5 separate regions of the Homo sapiens genome follow, and regions 1, 2, 3 and 5 are each linked to region 4. Evidence: promoter capture Hi-C in 16 types of primary human blood cells and fetal thymus (Javierre and others, 2016). All regions are on one chromosome and are shown on one strand. The core of a region is centred on a gene start or on the middle of the fragment in contact, and the rest is flanking DNA. Distances in the headings are between cores, read along the strand shown.

Region 1 (2,700 bases), core at 182-2,681, 870 kb after region 4:
GTTCAAGCAATTCTTCTGCCTAAGCCTCCTGAGTAGCTGGGACTACAGGCAAGCACCACAAAGTCCAGCTAATTTTTGTATTTTTAGTAGAGATGGGGCTTCCCCATGTTGGGCAGGCTGGTCTTGAACTCCTGACCTCAAGTGATCCACCTGCCCGGCCTCCCAAAGTGCTGGGATTACAGGCATGAGCCACAGCGCCTGGCCGAAAATGACTTTTTATATATTTAATTTCCCTCCCAGCCTGCAAATCCCTTGAAGTCAGAATCTGTACCAAAAAAAAAATTCATCTTTGGACTAGATATTATGAAGTTTAAGGATCCTGTATCTGGTCAGTGCTCAATCAGCTCAAATTCATTAAACACTTGATTTTTTTTTAACCTTTAAAACTATGTATACTTCACTGGCAGAGATTATAGATAAATTTAAGCACCCCAGAGTTAAGGCTTATTATATTATTTTGAGCCATTGAACACTTTCAGTTCAGTGTTAGAGTAGTTAATAGAATTGAACACCTGATTTTGCCTACTATTTGGTAGGCACTGTGCTATGTGCTAGAGGTTTCAACAATGAATAAGATTTCGTTCCTACCCTTGGGTTATGGAAAGATGGACATTTAAATAAATAAGTGCAAGTGAAGTGTTTATATGCTGCCGTAGTTATATATTCAAAGTATGATGGGTACAAAAAAGGAGGAAACAGTCAATTTAATAACTTTTTTAAGGCACAGAACCTGTTAAAACTGAACCATTCATGGCCGGGCACGGTGGCTCATGCCTGTAACCCCAGCACTTTGGGAGGCCGAGGTGGGCAGATCATGAGGTCGGGAGATCGAGACCATCCTGGCTAACAAGGTGAAACCCCGTCTTTACTAAAAATACAAAAAAATTAGCCGGGCGTGGTGGCCGGCGCCTGTAATCCCAGCTACTCGGGAGGCTAAGGCAGGAGAATGGCGTGAATCCGGGGGGTGGAGCTTGCAGTGAGCCGAGATCATGCCACTGCACTCCAGCCTGGGCGACAGAGCGAGACTCCGTCTCAAACAACAACAACAACAACAACAACAACAAAAACTGAACAATTCACTAGTCAGCAGAAAAAATTTTTAAAAGCATCAAGTTTTTTAAAAGTATGCATATAATAGCAACTATCATTTATTTAGTGTTTACCAAGTGCCAAGCATTGTTGTAAGCACTTTAGATTGATTATCTCACTGGTGATCCTCATAACAACTTTATGAGGTGGTACTAATGTTATCTCCATTTTGCTGATGAAGATAGTGACGCTGGGAGAGGTTAATGTGCCCAAAGCACAGAAGATGGAGCCGTCCTGGAACCATGGCCCACGGGGGCAGCAGCAGGCTGTGAACAGAACTGTGCCTGGAGGGTGCCCTCCAATAGCAGTCAGGCTAGGGAGGAAGGAGAGACCAGATAAAGCAGCTGTATGCATCACTGTCCTCATCTGTTCTGTTTTTCCTAGGCCCTACTAGCACACCTACGGACCTACGGAAGCTGGAGGTTGGTAGTACACCTCGGGGCAGCCACTCACAATCTGAGGGCCTCTGAAGGTGCAGAGTGTGAGTTCTGGGTGGAATTCAGGAGTGTTGGTTTTCACAACTTTAACACAAGTGGTCCACTGACACCAAAATAGGAAACATGCTCCTGAAAACTGTTTCATATTGGGTTAGTTCTTTTTGACACCATCATATCATACAGTTCGGTACATTTTTTCTTCAATCACTAAACTATGGTCTTATGGTAAAATTATGATTCGTTTAGGAATACGAGTTGGCCGGCTGGGCGCGGTGGCTCACGCCTGTAATCCCAGCAGTTTGGGAGGCTGAGGAGGGCGGATCACGAGGTCAGGAGATCAAGATCATCCTGGCTAACACGGTGAAACCCCGTCTCTACTAAAAATACAAAAAAAAAAAAAAAAAAGTTAGCCGGGCGTGGTGGTGGGCGCCTGTAGTCCCAGTTACTCGGAGGCTGAGGCAGGAGAATGGCGTCAACCCAGCAGGCGGAGCTTGCAGTGAGCCGAGATCGCCCCACTGCACTCCAGCCTGGGCGACAGTGTGAGACTCCCTCTCAAAAAAAAAAGAAAAGAAAAGAATACGAGTTGGGCATTTGAAAAATAAGCCTAGCACTTCACACTAGCATTTCAAAAGAACAAAATCTCCCCATTCTCCTGACTTTTGTTTGCCAGTTAAATATCCTTTTCTCCAATGCAACTTCCATGACAGCACAAGCATAATTTCTTAGTGGTGAGTAATTGTTGGGCCTACAGCCTGGCAGGTTGGAAAGAACTGGGGCTCAGAGGGACACTACCAGGTTCTAAGCTCTCTATGACCTTGAGCAAGTAAAAAGACTTCCTGATACTTCCCATTTATTGAGACAAAAAGAGATTTAAAGATAAATCAAAATGTAGAAAAGGGTTTGAAATTAACAAGCAGGTAAAGATTTAAGTAGTAATTTTTATTGAAAATCTAAGTAGATAAACCCCAATTTTTTATTTTTGAAACAGGTCTCACTTTGTTGCCCAGGCTGGAATGCAGTGGTGCGATCATAGCTCACTGCAGCCTCAACCTCCTGGGCTCAAAGTGATCCTCCCACTTTAGTCTCCCAAGTAGCTGGGACATGCCACTATGCCCGGCTAATTTTTTATTTTTTGTAGAGATGGGGTCTTACTATGTTGCCCAGGCCATTCTTG
Region 2 (2,700 bases), core at 31-2,530, 630 kb after region 4:
AAATTTAGAGAAGGATTATTCTGTATTTCATCAATTCTAAGAAGTATATTTTCCCTCCTTGTGCATCTCAGTAATTAGGATATGTCTTACAATCAGTAGTGCACCATATTTACTTAACAGCACTTTTCTTAGTACAAAAATTAATTATGTCATAATCACTAGCATCTTGGATTCAGTGAAATATATTAATAGTTGTTTAGCTTAGTGCCATTCTAAATTGAATCTCTTTATTTGTTGTAACATTAACCTTTCTTCTCTTCGGACAGTTTTGGCCTTGGCTTAACTTCCTAGCTTTGTTCACTTGGAAGCTTGATAAGGTAGAATATCAGTTGTATAACCGAGCACCATTGCTTATGGTAATAATGACTCATGATTACTGAATTGCATAAGGACCAGAGGAGGACTGTGAATGAATTGTAAATACTGGTACTTATACCGTTAACAGCTTTGGACTTCCCTGAGTGTGATAACTCTTGCAACTAAGCAAATCTGTTGCTGAAGCTCAGGAAGCTATGCCTATGAGACTGGAGATATTGGTTGCTATTTGGTACCTGTAAGCTAGAGTAGCTACTGCAAGGACCTTATGCTCTCATTCTCTTACACTTGATCTGCCACCTGAGAGGGCCAAAGATACTAGCCCCCGAATTGCAATGAGGACTCCTGCCTGACATGTTAAGTATAACCAGCCTGTTTGGGTTATGTGAGTCTCGGTGTCTAGTTAGGCCTAACGGGGTGTTGTACTTACATTCTGTGGCTTTATTTTGTTTTTAATATTTGCTGAGTGAATCTATATTTACTATTTATTCGTCATAAGAATTTTAAATTATAAATATGAGCACATCTCTACTAAGTAATGCCAAATTGTTTTCCAAAGTGATCATACCAATCTATACTCCCACCAGAAGTGTGAGTTTCTGATGTTCCACATCTTCACCAATATTTAGGATTGTCAGACTTAAGTTTTAAATTAGGAATTAATTTAAAACATCTCATTGTGGGTTTGTACATTTTTCATCACTAGTGAGAGATTGAGTTTTTCCATATGTTTATAGCCTACTCGTTCTATAAAATACTGAGAGATGTGTTGAAGTCTCCAACTTAATAGATTTGTCTATTTCTCTTTCCAGTTCTATCAGTTTTTTTTTCATGTATTTTGAAAGTTTGTTAGATCCATACATATTTAAGATCGGTGTGCCTTTCTGGCGGACAGCCTCTTTATCTCTGGTAATATTCCTTGTTCTGAAATCTTCTTTGCCTTGTATTAATATAACCACTTCAGCTTCCTTTTGATTAGTATTTACATGGTATATCATGTCAAAAACTGAAGTTTGCCATGAATTTCATACATATTAGCAATAGACATGAGATTTCCATCTCTCCATTGTATCACTTATTAATAAAGAGTAACTGGGGAGATGGTTGCAGACCAGATACTGAGAAGTAGGTTCAAAGGCAGCTACCTCAACAGAGACCCATGGAGAATTGTCTCCCAACATATTTTTTCTGTTTTTGTTTTTTGTTTTACTTTCACTTTCAACCTATCTGTATCTTTACACTTAATATGGGTTTCTTATAGTCAGCATATAGATGGGCTTACTTGTTTATCCAGTCTGATAATCTCTGTCTTTCATTTTGACATGTCTCTTTTATTTAGTGTGTTTAGATTGTTTATATTTATCAACATTGGTAATATGGTTGGATTAAAATCTACCACTATGGTATCTGGTTTATGTTAGTCTATCTGTTCTTTTTTTCTTTTGGATTACTTGGACTTTTTAAAAATTCCATTTCTCTCCGCGGTTTGCTTATTTATTTATACCTCTTTCTGAAATTTGTTTAGTGGTTGCCCTAGGGTTTGCCGTATATTTGTAATTAATCACAGTTTTCTTGATATAATAATACATAGCTTTATATGTAGTATTAGGACCTTATAGTTCTATACTCCCATTTCTCCTCTTCATCTTTTATGTTTTTGTTGTCATACACTTTACTTTTATATATATGCAATCAACATGCAATATATTACTACTCTAAGACTTTACAGTATATTGCTATAGATTTTATAGAACTGTTCATGTAGGTTATAATAAATTTATTTTTAAAAAGTCTTCAATAATTAGCCTTACCTTACTGTAACTTTTACTTTATTAACTTCTTAGTTTTTTAAACTTTTTTACTCTCTTACAATAACTTAGCTTAAAACAAATACATTGTACAGCTGTACAAAAGTATGTCCTCATTCTGTAAGCTTTTTTCTATTTAAAAATTTTTAATTTTTACTTTTAAAACTTTTGTTAAAAACTAAGACGCAAATACATTAGCCCTAGGCCCACAGAGAGTCAAGCTATAAATATCACTGTCTTCCACTTCCACATCTTGTCTGGAAGGTCTTCAGGGACAATTACACACATGGAACTGCCATCTCCTATGATAACAGTTCCTTCTTCTGTAATATCTCCTGAAGGACTTACCTGAGGCTGTTTTACAGTTAACTTTCCTTTTTATGTAAGTAGGAGTACATTCTAAAATAATGATAAAGTATATAATAAATACATAAGCTAGTAACTGTTACCATGATCAAGTATTATGTACTTAACATAATTGTATATGCTATACTTTTATACAACTGGCAGTGTAGGTTTCTTTACACCAGCTTCACCACAAACACGTGAGTAACTCATCGTACTACAATGTTAATAC
Region 3 (2,700 bases), core at 136-2,635, 730 kb after region 4:
GACCCTGTCTCTACCAAAAAATAAAAATAAAATTAGATGAGCATGGTGGCGCGCACCTATAGTCTCAGCTACTTGGGAGGCTGAGGTGGGAGGATCACTTGATCCTGGGAGTTCGAGGGTGCAGTGAGCTGTGATTGCGCCACTACACTCCAGCCTGGGCTACAGACAGAGCAAGACTCTGTCTCTTTGGGGAAAAACAAAAAAAAGAAGTAAGTCTGTATTTTGGGGATTATTATATTAAGATGTTATGTCACATCTGAAATGTGATATTTACTTGTATTTTCTGTTTGATTGGCTGAGTGGATTAGAGCTTGCTACAAAAGAGGATAAATTCATTCACTCATATACTCTCTACTTAATCCAGCTATCTTCACAGCACAGGCTGCCTGCCAAAGACTAGGACTTTGCAAAAATATACATCAGCTACAGTATGCATTGGAAAGAATATGTGAATGGGTCACTGTAAATTTATTTGTATGCAGAAAACAAACTCAAAGCACATATCTGACTGGCAGTAAGATAGAAATTGGAGTATGTTTTCATTGTTTACACCTGTGCTGTCGTATGGTAGCCGCTAGCAGCATGGATATTGAGAACTTAAAATTTGGCTTATACAACTGAAGAACTGAATTTTAAACTTTATTTAATTTTAATTTAGATTTTAAAACATAGTTGACTCAAAGTATGTTTGGAACGACTTAGGTATGTAATACTATTTTTTACTCTTAAGTTGTATGAAATTACAGATCAAGTATTTCTGTAGAAAATTTAGCGTGCACAGTGAGATATACTAGAAGGATAAAGTACATACTCATTTCAAAGACTTCATGGAAAGAATAATTTAAAATATTTTGTTAGTAATTTTAATATTGATTACATGTTGAAAGGATAATATTTTAAATATATTGGATCAGATCAAAGTGTTTTTAAATTAACCTATTTTTATTTTTTTAAATGTGACTACTAGAAAACTTTAAGTTACATGTGACTTTCATTATATTTCTATTGGACAATGCTAGTTTTATACAGTCACTTTATGTCTTTGCTTTTAAAGCAGAGGATTAGTAACCACCTTTAAGTTATAATTCAATTTTTAAGTGTGGTTTTTTTTCTCAAGTCAATTCTGTTGTAAACTGTTCTAGAGATTAGATTAACATAAACTGAGGGAAAAATTTTAATATTGTCCTCCTTTGTTCTTCACATTTGAACTGAGAATTATGTTTTTTTAGAATTAGATTGGAACATAGTCTCTCCCTCATTTATTCATTTGCACATTTTTCTCATTCAGCAGCATTCATTCAGTTTCTGTTTTATACCTAGGTCTATACTAGCCCCTGAAGCCTAGATAAATTAAGTGATAAATTCAGTAATACATACCATCAAATGCAAACTTGAAATTAGCAAATTTTTAAAAACTTTTTTAAAAATATGTATTAAAGCAAATTTGATAGACCATAGCAAAAAGACATGTTACATTTGATTATTCTCTTATTTGAAAAGTACGCTTTTCTACATTTTCCTAGGTAACCCTGTTTCAGAACCATGGGCCCTCTGGAAGTTAAAATCACTCTGGAGGTCTCACTGGTTGCTCTGACAGCTTCTTCCTCCCGATAACCGGCTTTCCTCATCTCAAGGCACATTCCAAACTGCCGCCCGGTGGTTGAAACAGGGAATAAACCAAAGAAAAAATACTGTTCTCTTCCTTTCTCTAGGAAATTATGCTTGTGGCATTTTCTCCCTCTGTTTCCATTACCCTAGGATAATCTCTCTTTCTTCTGCACATCAGTACTCAGTGCAGAAGACAAGGGTTGTAATCTTTGTCCCCCTTCTCACCTGCCTCTTGCCTAGTCACACTCACTAAATCTCTCAAGCCATGTCTTTATATAGTTTGCTTTAAAAAAATACCCCCTAAGCACAGTAATGCATTTTGTTATTAAGGAATAGAAATGCAAATTTTGAGTGTGAAAATTTGATCTAGTAAACAAAAATCAACCTCTAAGACCCTTTTAACCTAAAATTGTTTTCAGAGTCTTCATGTCTTTTCATATGTTCATCCCTTTCTTTTTTTTTTTTGTTTTTTTTTTTGTGTGTGTGTGTTTTTTGTTTTTTTTTGTTTTGTTTGAGACATAGTCTCACTCTGTCACCCAGGCTGGAATGCAATGGCACAATCTCAGCTCACTGCAACCTCCACCTCCCAGGTTCAAGCAGTTCTCCTGCCTCAGCCTCCCTAGTAGCTGGGATTACAGGCATGCGTCACCACACCCGGCTAATTTTTGTATTTTTAGTAGAGACGGGGTTTCGCTACATTTGCCAGACTGGTCTCAAACTCCTGACCTCAGGTGATCCACCTGCCTCAGCCTCCCAAAGTGCTGGGATTACAGGCATAAGCCACCGTGCCCGGCCTCATATGTTCATCCCTTTCTAATGAAACTGGTTGTTTTGTTTTATTTGGGTTTGTGGGAGGAGTTTTCCATTTAAAAATTTTTTATTTACTAAATTAATGCATGCTTATTGTTAAAATTAAGTTCTGAAGAGTATGCATTTAAAAGTAAAAGTTTTTTCCCTTAGCTCTCCATTTCATGTGGTTTGATTTTTTTTTTAATACTAATATTTTAAAGTAGAAACAGCAGTATATGTTTCTGAGGAAAGTGGTAGATTTGTATTTGTTTTATTATTATGCCTTATACATGCATAATTGAT
Region 4 (2,700 bases), core at 141-2,640:
CAAAGGCCAGTGTATCATCTCACCTAGCACTGATAACACACTGATACAGACCTATTCACATCACTGCCTACAAACTGGACCAAGACTTGCAAATTTTGGAAGCCCCAGACGTTGGGACTTTAGCATCAAGACCTAAAATGCCCAACTTTACCTCTACCACTGACCCCATACTCAGTAAGAAGTTAAGAATAAATCCAGCCTACAAAAATTTACTGACCGAAAGCTGCCTATTACCAAAAGATATAAAATCCATTGCAACTTTAAACCTACCGGCTACCAGAGAAATTTAATAGTAACTACTACGTGTCTTGGTGGGACAATAAAGTGTTCTAATCCATTGAATATTACAGTTCATATTAGCACATATTCATAGCACATACCATATAACTTTTTATTAAACAAAGAAGACTTCTTAGAGTTTCGTAGTTCTTCAGAATTTTTGTGGAAAATATTAATTTCATTAAAGAAGTACTTGAGTTCTTAATTAAAATCTGGTCTAATTTGATCAATAGAAGTTTACATATTTTAATGTTTGACAATTTTAAGTAGTTGGTAATTGTCATAATGCCTAACTTTTTAATCTTCTCCTGCCTATCCCATCTAAATACCCATCTAAATGCCTAGTGTTAATCTCGTGTCTTCTATCAGACTTCTACATACTCATCTACATCCTCAACCACTGAATCCTATTGCACTTATAGTCAACGCCACACAATTCTTTAAGTATTTCGCGTGTATGTCTTCAATTAGATTGTAAGCTTCTTGGAACTGGATCTATGCCTTAATTTCTTTCTAATCTTCCCAGCGAGCCTACAAGTTAATTTGGGGAGTATACAGCGTTCAACAAATACTGGTTGGGTCTGTGACCTTAGCTTTGCCATTTTTGTCAAAGCGTATAACCATCTAGTTTCAATTGTGCCCTGACATGACTATTTCTCTGGGGTTTCTCTTTGCTCAACGCCATTGTTCATTTTCTATTAGAATAAAGGGCTTGTTGAACAGAGATGCCAACGCAGCGTCCCGTGGAATCTGAATAAACGGACTGATCCACCGCCCCGGGTGTTGAGGCTGTGAACAAAAATTAAACCTCTGATAGCCCACGAACAGCTTAACGACACATATTTTAAAATACCACTCCAAAGCCTAGTTACCTGCCAGTTACCCCGGCCTCCGGAGCTGCCGATGCTCGAAGATGTTGACAAGGCAGCTAGGATATACAGTCCAGAAGCCCAGTCGCTACGGTAACGGTGACACGCAAGTGCACTTGCGCGGCCTTCTGACGGAAAACCTTAGCCTGAACCTACAGACGTGCTTAGCGACGGCAGAGGCTTGCGGCAGTAGCGTGACTTACGGCAGCTCTCTAGCAGAGCGCCGTTGCTGGGGGAATGCAGAAGCGGCCGCGGGCTAGCAAGCTCCCGGAGCCGGCGGCGCACCACCATGACCCAGTCGGTGGTCGTACAGGGTAAGCTACGCCGGGCGGGTAGAGACCTGGTCGCCGCGGAATCCAGCGGCCATGTTTCCTGCTTAATGTCCTATTCTCTTTCCTTCCTCTCCTCCGGTCGCAGTCGGCCAGTGCGGAAACCAGATCGGCTGCTGCTTCTGGGACCTGGCACTAAGGGAGCACGCCGCGGTCAACCAGGTACCCGCCCGCCGCCGCGAGCCCCCTCGCCTGTCAGCTAGGTCTTCCAGCCCATACGCAGGAAATAATCGACTTGAGCTTTCATCTGACCCGTTTAAGATGCATGGGATCTTCCCAGTAAAGAACGTACTGGTTTTTAAACATGTTGCGTCAGACACACACTAAACTAAAAGAACACTGGCCAGCGACCTTAGTCTTAACGTTTTTCCTGATTCTCAGGGTCTCCTCTTTATTGGTGTTCGTGTGCAGAACAGTGAGATTTGTATATGGGAAAGTACTTTGTAAAATAGATAACACGTGTGGTTATTGTATTCCTTAATTTAACCAGTCAGCTTTTAAAAAGATTACGAAGAATCCAGAGAACGCTCATTTGATGGACCTGTCCTACAGTCCTATGGGTGAAATCCTTTCTTTAGCACCCCCTGCTGAACTTTTTATCTGTAGATCTGGCATTTACTCTTCTAAGGAGATTGGGAAGAGTCAGGCTCCGCATTTTGTGATACTTGGTTTTTCTTATCAGAGTCTCATCCTAGCCATTACAGTATTATGTAATTAAAATTGAAAGAACTTGATTTGGGCGAGAAGCAAAACCTAAATGCTATTAACATATGTTTTTCTTTTTAGAAAGGAATTTATGATGAGGCAATAAGCAGCTTCTTTAGAAATGTGGACACCAGGTAAGATGGGATTAAAGTCTGTCACAGTGTGATACTTTAAGTTTCAGTAGCTTGGGAGAGAATTCTTCAAAGGACAATAAAAATAGCCAGCTGCGAAGTTGTGTTTTTTTGTTTCATTATTGAAAGCATATTTATTCTATTAGATTATTAATATTCTTATATCATTTTCCCGAAGAAGACAACAGATTTCCCTTTAGTGTGACTTCTTTTAACTTAACCTTGAAATAAGTTTCATTAAAAGAAAGCTGAAATTTTCCCAGAGGGCATCTTGTTAATGCATCCTGTAATAACTAACTTTTGAAAGAAAAATATATTGTTTACATATATGCTGTAAGTATAAAAATATACTTAAAAAGGTGACAAGCAGTTGTTGGATTGTTTTTG
Region 5 (2,700 bases), core at 151-2,650, 530 kb after region 4:
AATTGTTCAAAGAACCGTTGCACACAAAGATGTAGTTTCTGTTTTAACTCAAGAAAGAAAAAGAGAAGGTTCATGTCATACTTCTTATCTCTTGTACATAAAAGTCAAGATGTGTATGGTTTTTGCTGGCTGTTCCAGGGAGGCATTTCATTGCACATAGTTCAGCTCTCAAAGCTAATGATTACAGGAATTAAATCTATAGTTACCTGAGTGAACTTTGCCGTGATTCATATGAGGCTTTTCACACCAGAAGGGTCTGCCAGCAAGTTTGGAGAATGGGGGCAAAACCACCTGAGGCCACATTCCATGCTTGGCAAAGGGAAGGCAGTGGTGGAGTAAACATGTTGAGAATCAGACCACAGCACCCTAAACTCAGGCCCTGTTTCACCCTGGAGGGATCCTCAGATGTCAAGACTGCACTGAGACCCCTGCCCTGGATGAGGGAGGCTCCAGTTTATGGGAACGGGACACCTCAGGCTGTATGGTGCACAGCCTGTGCGATGGCACACCTTTCTATCCTCCCTGCGCTGCCTTTGCCCAGGGTCTCACTGCTGTCACTTACTGATGAGTCTCCTTACTGGTCTCATCTCCACTTTGACCTTGTGCTAGCCATCCTCTCCTCTGCCATCAAAGAGGAACATCCAAAATGTAGGTCTGATCTGTTTCTTGGTAGCTTACAAATTTTGTGCCGTTTTCCCATTGACTACAAGATCATATCCACCTTTCTTAGCACGATCTATGAGGCCTCTCAGAAGAGGACTGTGTCCCCTTGCGTAGTTTTCTCTCATCACCCTCTGTAGATGCTGTGTGCTCTGGTCACCCTGGACCATTTCAGCATGCCCTCACACATGCTGTGTTCTTTTGTCTCTGTGCCTTTGCCTTTTCTGTTCCGTCTGCTTGCAATGCCCTTCCCTAACTTGCCTGCCTAGTGAACTCTTACTTACCCTTATATCACCCAATCTCTCTAGCCTCCCCGACACCTCTTTTGGTTGTTTGTTTTGAGACGGAGTCTTGCTCTGTCATCAGGCTGGAGTGTAGTGGTGTGATCTCGGCTCACTGCAACCTCTGCCTCCAGGGTTCAAGCGATTCTCCTGCCTCAGCCTCCCGACTATCTGGGACTACAGGCATGTGCTACTATGCCCAGCTAATTTTTGTATTTTTAGTGGAGATGGGGTTTCACCATGTTGGCCAGGATGGTCTTGTTCTCTTGACCTCGTGATCCACCTGCCTGGGCCTCCCAAAGTGTTTTTTTTTTTTGAGACAGGGTCTTGCTCTGTTGCCCAGGCTGGAGTGCAGTGGTGCAATCTCAGCTCACTGCAACCTCCACCTCCCAGGTTCAAGCAATTCTCCTGCCTCAGCCTCCCAAGTAGCTGGGGTTATAGGTGCTCGCCACCACGCCCAGCTAATTTTTGTATGTTTAGTAGAGACAGGGTTTCACCATGTTGGCCAGGCTGGTCTTGAACTCCTGACCTCAGGTAATCCACTCTCCTCAGCCTCCCCAGTGCTGGGATTACAGGCGTGAGCCACTGCGCCCTGCCCTGACACCTCTTTACCTTCATGCTGATATATTTCATTGTCCCTTTCTTAAGGGTGCTTAATTCTAGCACCTTGGGTCAATGGTATGTGTTTGGGTTGAGGGTACTGGGAATAATTGTTGAGAATTATTGGAGCATGGCGATATACAAAATAGACCAAATTTTCATTGGTTTTGTTATTATTTTTAAATCTCCTTCAGACAATGCCCGTATTACCTGAGCCCAGCACAGGCCGCTCTCACCACCTGTCCCCTTGGTACACCATTGACTAGAAAATCATTTGTTGACATTTTGCTTTCATCCTAAGATTTGAAGTCCTCAAGGCAGTCCCTGCGTCCTTTTCATTTGGGCATCCTCAGTACTCAGTATGATGCCTGCCATGCAGCAGGTGCTGCTTCTAAGCACAATACCTAGAGAAGTCCCGTCCTATAGTCCCTAGGAGTTAGACTCAAAAGCAAAGGCCTTATGGTGGCCTACAGGGCACTATCCGATACAGCCCCTTCTACTTCCAGACCTCTGCACCTACTCACTCTGCTCTACTCACAGTGGCCTTGTTGCTTGTGAACAGACCCAACACACTCCCTCCACAGGGCCTTCGCACTGACTCTCCTATCTGCCTGGACCCAGACAACCACAGAGCTTGCTTCTTCCACTCTTTTAGGTCTTTGCTCATTTTCTCAGTGAGACCTCTCCTAAGCACCCCGTTTAAAACTGCAAATCTTTCACCCTTGCCCCAGCACTCCCTGTCCCCTTTCTTGTTTAATTCTTCTCCACAGCATACATCACTGTTGAACACACTATCCATTTACTTATTATCTGCCTCTCCCCACCAGAACATCCACTCCATGAGGGCAGTCTGACACTGCACCCCCAGGATCCCTGGCTAACAGTTTCTGCCTCTGCCTGATCACTGAGGTCTGATGGGCTCCTTCTACTGCAGGCCAGACCTGGGGCTGGAGTGAAAGAGTAATGAATTGATTTAAGCCTACGGCCCTGGCATACTTCTTCTGAAGTCACAGGGGAATTCACATCACTCTGTGTGACCTCTGTCCTACCCCTTTTATGTGAGGGTGGTGAAAAGCAAGTTGAAATGCAAAGGGTAGGTAGTCTGGGAGACTGACAGAAAATGCTGTGCACATGTGGTTTTTATAATGAGATATACAGC

What was found. The method cuts DNA at HindIII sites, captures the fragments that hold promoters and counts their contacts. A CHiCAGO score of 5 or more calls a contact.
Region 1: a contact is called between a fragment that was not itself captured here and the fragment with the promoter of TUBE1 in region 4, in 1 of 17 cell types (fetal thymus). The highest score is 5.2, in fetal thymus.
Region 2: a contact is called between a fragment that was not itself captured here and the fragment with the promoter of TUBE1 in region 4, in 2 of 17 cell types (non-activated CD4 T cells and total CD8 T cells). The highest score is 5.5, in non-activated CD4 T cells.
Region 3: a fragment that was not itself captured here is called in contact with the fragment with the promoter of TUBE1 in region 4 in 1 of 17 cell types (total CD8 T cells); the score reaches 5.6 in total CD8 T cells.
Region 5: a fragment that was not itself captured here is called in contact with the fragment with the promoter of TUBE1 in region 4 in 1 of 17 cell types (total CD8 T cells); the score reaches 5.6 in total CD8 T cells.

Annotation. Positions count from the first base shown.
Region 1 is chr6:111,215,802-111,218,501 of GRCh38, reverse strand. The region is part of intron 4 of SLC16A10 (solute carrier family 16 member 10); the gene reads right to left. Among named protein-coding and RNA genes, the nearest start is that of SLC60A2-DT, 42 kb to the left of the region's middle. The HindIII fragment of the contact is 7,253 bases long and covers 1-2,700 here.
Region 2 is chr6:111,460,899-111,463,598 of GRCh38, reverse strand. All of the region lies in intron 1 of REV3L (REV3 like, DNA directed polymerase zeta catalytic subunit), which reads left to right. Among named protein-coding and RNA genes, the nearest start is that of REV3L, 21 kb to the left of the region's middle. The HindIII fragment of the contact is 1,940 bases long and covers 311-2,250 here.
Region 3 is chr6:111,360,805-111,363,504 of GRCh38, reverse strand. The region is part of intron 16 of REV3L (REV3 like, DNA directed polymerase zeta catalytic subunit); the gene reads left to right. Among named protein-coding and RNA genes, the nearest start is that of SLC60A2, 100 kb to the right of the region's middle. The HindIII fragment of the contact is 3,484 bases long and covers 1-2,700 here.
Region 4 is chr6:112,086,172-112,088,871 of GRCh38, reverse strand. TUBE1 (tubulin epsilon 1) reads left to right here and starts at 1,390. Exons shown (of 12, transcript NM_016262.5): 1 at 1,390-1,462; 2 at 1,566-1,639; 3 at 2,264-2,316. The coding sequence starts at 1,438. It overlaps FAM229B (family with sequence similarity 229 member B), which reads right to left and starts at 1,281. Exons shown (of 4, transcript NM_001033564.3): 1 at 1,152-1,281. RefSeq lists enhancers at 1,221-1,410, 1,145-1,676, 1,811-1,860. The HindIII fragment of the contact is 2,028 bases long and covers 761-2,700 here.
Region 5 is chr6:111,559,739-111,562,438 of GRCh38, reverse strand. All of the region lies in intron 8 of TRAF3IP2 (TRAF3 interacting protein 2), which reads left to right. It also overlaps TRAF3IP2-AS1. Among named protein-coding and RNA genes, the nearest start is that of TRAF3IP2, 45 kb to the left of the region's middle. RefSeq lists a silencer at 1-106 and an enhancer at 2,576-2,700. The HindIII fragment of the contact is 4,561 bases long and covers 1-2,700 here.